Linked DNA regions of Homo sapiens: region 1 is linked to region 2. Evidence: promoter capture Hi-C in 16 types of primary human blood cells and fetal thymus (Javierre and others, 2016). All regions are on one chromosome and are shown on one strand. Each heading gives the region's core, a stretch centred on a gene start or on the middle of the fragment in contact. The rest is flanking DNA. Distances are from core to core; before and after follow the strand shown. Region 1 overlaps ATG2A (autophagy related 2A). Region 2 holds the start of CDC42BPG (CDC42 binding protein kinase gamma).

Region 1 (2,960 bases), core at 107-2,606, 52 kb after region 2:
CCGTGGCCAGGATGAGCGGCTTCACCACAGTCGGGGGCAGCTGGCGGATCACGCCCCCCACGGCGCCCGTCAGCCCCTTCTGCTCATGGCCCCGCGATGCCACGTCACAGATGGTCTGAGCTGTATCCAAGATGCCCTGTGGAAGCCAGAGGTCAGGGCGGGGTCTGTGTGAGGAGATGGGCATGGGGGACTGGGGCAGGGCGGGGGCCTGGTCACCTCTCGCACTGTGTCGTAGGCCTTGGCCACACCCTCCCGCAGGTCGGCAGGCTGCTGGCCCCTGCGCAGCCTCCGCGCAGAGCGCTTATCCTGCAGGGAGCGGGAGACGGGGGCTGCCGGGGACAGGATGTCATACACGGTCTCAGCTGTGGCCTGGGGGACATGGGAGCACTGGATGAGGACAGCTGGCTGGGGCACACGTCAGCCCCAGGCCCCCAGGACAGTCTGAGACCCCACCAGCCCTCAGCCTCCCTGCCTGTCACTGTGCTGGCCTAGGGGGTCCTGCTCAGCCTCACTCCCCACTTCCTCCCACTCTTCCTCCCCTTCCTAGGCACCTGCCACTCTGCTGAGGGAACCTAGGAACGTGGGACTCCTCAGGGGACTTTCCTAAAGTCTTCTCAACCCAAACCTCTCTTCCTGCTGACCACCACATTCAGCAGGTTCCACATGGCTGCCGCAGCTGCACGCCTGAGACTGACCGCTCCTTGCCTGGCCCCCCAGACGCCCCTGCCAGATGGTCAGAGGCCCATCCTTCCTTCTGTCTGCCAGATCCTCTGCCCAGCATCTCACCTGGCATCACTCTTTCCCACCTGACTGAACACTCCCGGGGGCTCCCTGGTGCCCATGCATCCCTCCCACCTCCCCTGGAGCCCTGCCCTCTGTCCTGTTGGGGTCTGAGCTTGCAGGTTCCAGAATGCACCATGCACCTGCACTCACCCCTTAGCCGCCTAGGACCATCGATCCCCTACAGAATTCATCTGACAACTGCCCACGAGACTGGCTCCCCAGCTTCCCTGGGGTCCTTCTGGCCTAGCGAAGCGTATGGCCTGAATGAACCAGGGCAGCCTCTGCGCCTCAGATTCTTAGTCTGCAAACACAGCCGTCCTCCACCCCCCTTTACAAGACATGCCATGAGCAGGAGACACAGTGGGCTCTGAAGGCCTGGGGGGCACTCCCGCTCCTGCATGGGAGCCCCTGTGGGCCTCGGGAGACCTGGCTTGGAGGTCCCAGGCAAGTCACTTAGCCTCTCCGTGGCTGTTTCTCTATAAAGTAGGGCTGTCATACCCAGACTGCCCACTCTGAGGAGCTTTGAGGACAGAACCAGGGAGCTGTGGTGCAGAGGGCTCCAGCTGCTCTGTCCTGCACAGCCCAGATACAGGGCACCCACTCACCTGGATAGCCTGTACCAACCGGTTGCTGAGTTCCAGGGCGGCAGAGGCTGTGGATGAGCCAAAGGAGGCAGCCCCTCGCTGCAGCCCCCGCATGAGGCGGCCATCCTTCCTGTACTGCTCAATGGGCAGCCACAGCAGGTCCCGGAACCCTTGGACTAGGGGGAAGGAGCGCTCAGAGACACCCGAGGCTGCCCTGCCCCCACCTCCTCCTCTTATTCCCAATGGCAGCTTCTAGGTTGCCCAAGGGTAAAAGCAGTTTCGAGGGCTTCCAAACCTAGACACTCACAGAGCTGGACAACCGAGTGCATGGGGCCCACGCCTCCCAGCAGGCCGGGCAGCTGGTTCTTGCGGATGTCCTGCAGCCACTCGTTGAGGGCATAGCCCAGCACCTTGTCCACACCCAGGAGCCTGGCAGGGCAGGGAGGTGAGGAGGCAGAAGGTGAGGCAGAGCCACACATGGAGGGATTGTGGGGTCAGGAGGACTCAGTACCCCTGTGGCAAGTACTGTGGGCACTCTACCCTCCCTGTGGTCCCACCCAGTCATGTGCAGAGGGACTGTGTCCTTTTTTTTTTTTTTTAGATGGAGTCTTGCTCCGTTGCCCAGGCTGGAGTGAAGTGGTGCGATCTTGGCTCACTGCAACCGCCTCCCAGGTTCAAGCAGTTCTCCTGCCTCAGCCTCCTGAGTAGCTGGGATTACATGTGTATGCCACCACGCCTGGCTAATTTTTGTATTTTTAGTAGAGACGGGGGGGTTTCACCATGTTGGTCAGGCTGGTCTCGAATGCCTGAATGTGTGAGCCATCATGCCCAGCCAACTGCGTCCTTTTTACAGAGGAGAAACTGAGGCCCTGAGAAGGGTGATGACTTGGCCAAGGCCACACAACCAGTCAGGACCAGAACAGAAGGAAGATCAGGGACCCTGGAGAGAGGCTGGGGTGCTGGGGACTCACCCGTGCCTGCAACAGAGCCGCTTTAGCTTCAGCTCGGAGCAGTTGAGTTGGGCCAGGCCGATGAGGAGGCCAGCAAAAGTGCCCTGGGAGAGGGAGGGGGTCCAGGTTTACCCAATGGGACTCAGGGAGCTAGCTAGCCCATGGGAGCCACTGGAGAGCGCCCTGGCTGCTAACAGTGCCTGGATGCAAGACCTGGCCCCCAGAGGGACTCAGCCACAGCTGACCCCACATGGCCACCCCATCCGACCGCCCCACTTACCACCTGGTCCATCGTGACGTGCTTGCCATGGTAATCCAGCCAGATGGGGACCTCAGACGTGAAGCGGAACTCTCTGGGTAGGGGAGCAGGAAGAGGGGGTTCTTTGCTCACTGGCCTGGCCCCCAGCAATCTGGCCCAGGGCCCCCCACCCGCAGTCCAGCAGCCTACCTGAAGTAGATGGGCTGCTGGTCAGGAGGGGAGGGGCTGTGTCCACCTCCTGGGGCCTCCTGCGAACCAGTGGTCTCTACGCCTTCGGCCTGCCCTTCCAGGGGGCTGCTGGGCTGGGCTCGAGTCTCGGGGCGAGCTAGGGGAGGGGAGGTCACAGACTGGGGATGGGGCCAGGAATGACTGGGAACCTGTGCT
Region 2 (3,113 bases), core at 384-2,883:
CGGGCCTCCCCGTGGGAGTTGAAGCCAGCACCATAGGGACCCACCCGCCAGAAGAGGGCCGAAGCCCAGGCCCACAGGCAGGAGGATCCAGGCCCCTGGACAGGCTGCCTAATCCTCTGGCCTCCCACAGGGCATGGGGGCTCCGGGCAGGAGCAGGGACAAGTAGAGACAAGCAGGAGAGGAATGAGTCACAGCCCTTTGAGTTACCTTGGGAGATTGTCAACAGAGGGCCCCCATGCCGGGGTCCCAGGCAGAGGTGCTGGAGGCAGTCAGGGAGGAGCACACATGTGTGTGCAAACACACACACGTGTGTGGGTGTCATGGGGGGGGTGACAACAACACAGGCAGACAGGCATAGCACGGAGGCATACCAGGGAGACAGGCACAGAGGCAGGGGCCTCTGACTGCCTCGCCCTGGATGGAAGGGTTGGGGCTAGGGGACAACTCCCTGGCACATCTAGGTGGCAGCCTCCCCCTCTACCCCAGGCCTTGTGCCTTCCCAGAGCTCAGGAGTGCCAGGAACGCTAGTTGCCCACTGGGCAAACACCTGCCTCACCCCGCCCTGGCCAGGCCCCCGTGCCTTTTCCCCATGGCCCGGCAGGGTGTGACCAGGGAACCCTCCAGCTGGCGCCAGTGCCCACAGTGGGTTCAGGGTCACCCCGGGCCAGCCACTCCCAATGACTCAGATGAGTCTACCAGGAAAGGTACAGACCCATCTCCAGCTAGGCCCCCCTCCCCGGCCCCGGCGCCACAGCCCCCAAGGAGCTTGGCCAGCAGCCTGCACAGGCCAAGGGTTGGAGATCGGTTCCTGAGTCCAGGCTGCAGTGGTCTTGTACCCAGGGAGCTGGGGGTGTGTGTGTTGGTGGGGGGAAGGTCTGCAAGTGTGCGATACCTACAGATCTGTGTGTTTTGCAGTGCCAATGCGGTCGGGGTGGTCTGCAGCGCTCCCTGGGTCTCTCCATGAGTTGTGTGTCTCAATGCATCCGAGAGGAAGGAGAAACAGAGCCCGTGTATCAGTGGGTGACATGCATGAGGGTCTGTGTGTGTCCTGCGTCAGGTGTGGCCTGTAAGCAAGGAAATCTGTAAGGGACTCTAGGCGGTGCACTGGGTACATGCGTCTGCGGTCGATACCTGAGCACAAGTTGGTATGTGTGTGCATGTGTCGGGGTCTGTGAGAGGGAGAGAGCGTGTGTGAGAATTGGAGTGAGGGTGAGGTGTGCAGGCGAGTGTGCGGGCCGCGGGGGTCCGGTGGTACGCGTCAGGGCCACTGCAGGGAGTCTGCGAGGGAAGCCCGTGGGGGTGCGGGTCCCTGCGGGAAAGTCTGCGGGTGCGGGGGTCTCGGCGCGATATCCCTAGGCCCGCCCCCGCTCCGTGCCGCCCCGCCACTCACCCCAGCTCAGGAACTGCGCCACGCTGCGCTCCCGCCGTAGGGGGCCGCTGCTGAGCTCGTGGTGCAGCGCCAGCAGCAGATCTAGGAGGCCGTCGAGCCCCGGGCAGCCGCCGGCCTCGCCCCGCGCCAGCTGCTCCAGCGCGCGCAGCCGCCGCTCCATGGCTGCGGCCGGAGCCTCGCTGCTCGGCTACAGTCTGGCCGCCCGCATGCCCGCCTGTCGGGCCGTCCGTCCGCCCAACCGTCTGAGGCTCTGTCCGCGCGTCCTCCCCCGCCCCTCTCCCGCCCTCCCCGCTGTCACCTTCCTCCGCCGCCGCCAGCGCGCCCTCACCTGGGCGCCGCGCCCCGCCCCCCGACGGACGGGCAGGTGCGCGCCGGCCAATGGGAGCCGCGGCTAGAGGTGAAGGTGGGGGCGGAGGCGCGCGGGGGCGGGCCCAACTCCCGGCCAGGAAGTGCGGGGGCGGGCCGGGGAGAACAACTGACTTCTGCGCGGGGCGCGGTGGGGTTCTGCGGGGTCGGAAAGACTCCCCAGATCCCCGCGCGGCCCCAGACCCAGACTTACCTGGGCCCTCCCTGGGCCCTGACCCAGGAGGCGCGGAGCACTGCAACTTCTCTCGCCCCCTGGGTCGCAGCCGCCTTGCCCTTGGCTAAGAGAGAGGGGCTAGGGACGCCCGCGGCCCCGGAGCCGGATGGGAATTGTAGTTCGCTCTCTCCATGGTTTGCCCGCGCTTGGCACCCATCGCCCCCCCGCCCCCGCCCAAAAAAAAGTTTCTGAATCTTACTTTGATTGTATCATTAGAGTTGATGTGGGAGACAGGAAGTTGGGGTAGGGATGGTCACGCCCATTTGGCAGATGGACACACTGAGGCTTGGGAAGGAGGAAGGCGAATTGAGGGGCTGAGGACAAGGTGGCTCTTAAGTTAGACCCTGGGGTGGAGGTGGAGCTGGGCTGGTACCAACACCACAGGCGTTTTAAGCTTCAGTAGGAGCAGGGCCTGAGGTCTGACCTGGAACGTGAAGGGCAAGGAGAGGTCTGAGATAGGCTGGAGGAGGTTGGGGAGGGGAGGGGCTGGCTCTGTCCAGTGGTATTTCTGATTTCTGTCCAGCTGGGATGGACCAGGCACCATGAGGAGAGATCAAAGGGTGGGACATATTGGTGGCTTCAGACAACACTTTTTTTTTTTTTTTTTTGAGACAGGGTCTCTCTGTCACCCATGCTGGAGTGCAGTGATGCAATCATAACTCACTGCAGCCTTGACCTCTTAGGCTCCTGCCTCAGCCTCTTGAGTAGCTGGGATTACAGGCAGATGCCACCACACCCAGCTGATTTTTTATTTTACTTTTTGGAGTCAAGGGTTATTGTTATGTTGACCAGGCTGGTCTCGAACTCCTGGGCTCAGGTAATCCTCCCACCTTGGCCTCCCGGAGTTCTGGGATTACAGACATGGGCAACTACACCCGGCCTAGACAACACTTCTTTCTCTTTTTTGAGACAGGGTCTCACTCTGTCCCCTAGGCTGGAGTGCAGTGGTGCAATCGTAGCTCACCACAGCCTCAACCTCCTGGGTTCAAGTGATCCTCCCACCTCAGCCTCCCGAATAGCTGAGACTACAGGCTCACACCACTAGGCCAGGCTGATGTTTTGTTTTTTGAGATGGTGTCTCACGCTGTCACCCAGGCCAGAGTGCAGTGGCACGATCTCGGCTCACTGCAACCTCTGCCTCCC

The links. The method cuts DNA at HindIII sites, captures the fragments that hold promoters and counts their contacts. A CHiCAGO score of 5 or more calls a contact.
Region 1: a contact is called between a fragment that was not itself captured here and the fragment with the promoter of CDC42BPG in region 2, in 16 of 17 cell types (naive CD4 T cells, M0 macrophages, megakaryocytes and 13 more). The highest score is 10.3, in naive CD4 T cells.

Annotation. Positions count from the first base shown.
Region 1 is chr11:64,895,074-64,898,033 of GRCh38, forward strand. It overlaps ATG2A (autophagy related 2A), which reads right to left. Exons shown (of 41, transcript NM_015104.3): 35 at 2,766-2,901; 36 at 2,598-2,670; 37 at 2,339-2,421; 38 at 1,675-1,796; 39 at 1,389-1,543; 40 at 217-369; 41 at 1-136. Among named protein-coding and RNA genes, the nearest start is that of MIR6750, 1.9 kb to the right of the region's middle. The HindIII fragment of the contact is 4,812 bases long and covers 1-2,960 here.
Region 2 is chr11:64,843,020-64,846,132 of GRCh38, forward strand. CDC42BPG (CDC42 binding protein kinase gamma) reads right to left here and starts at 1,634. Exons shown (of 37, transcript NM_017525.3): 1 at 1,391-1,634. The coding sequence starts at 1,550. RefSeq lists enhancers at 1-272, 297-1,109 and silencers at 1,324-1,373, 1,404-1,453, 1,464-1,813. The HindIII fragment of the contact is 2,728 bases long and covers 1-2,362 here.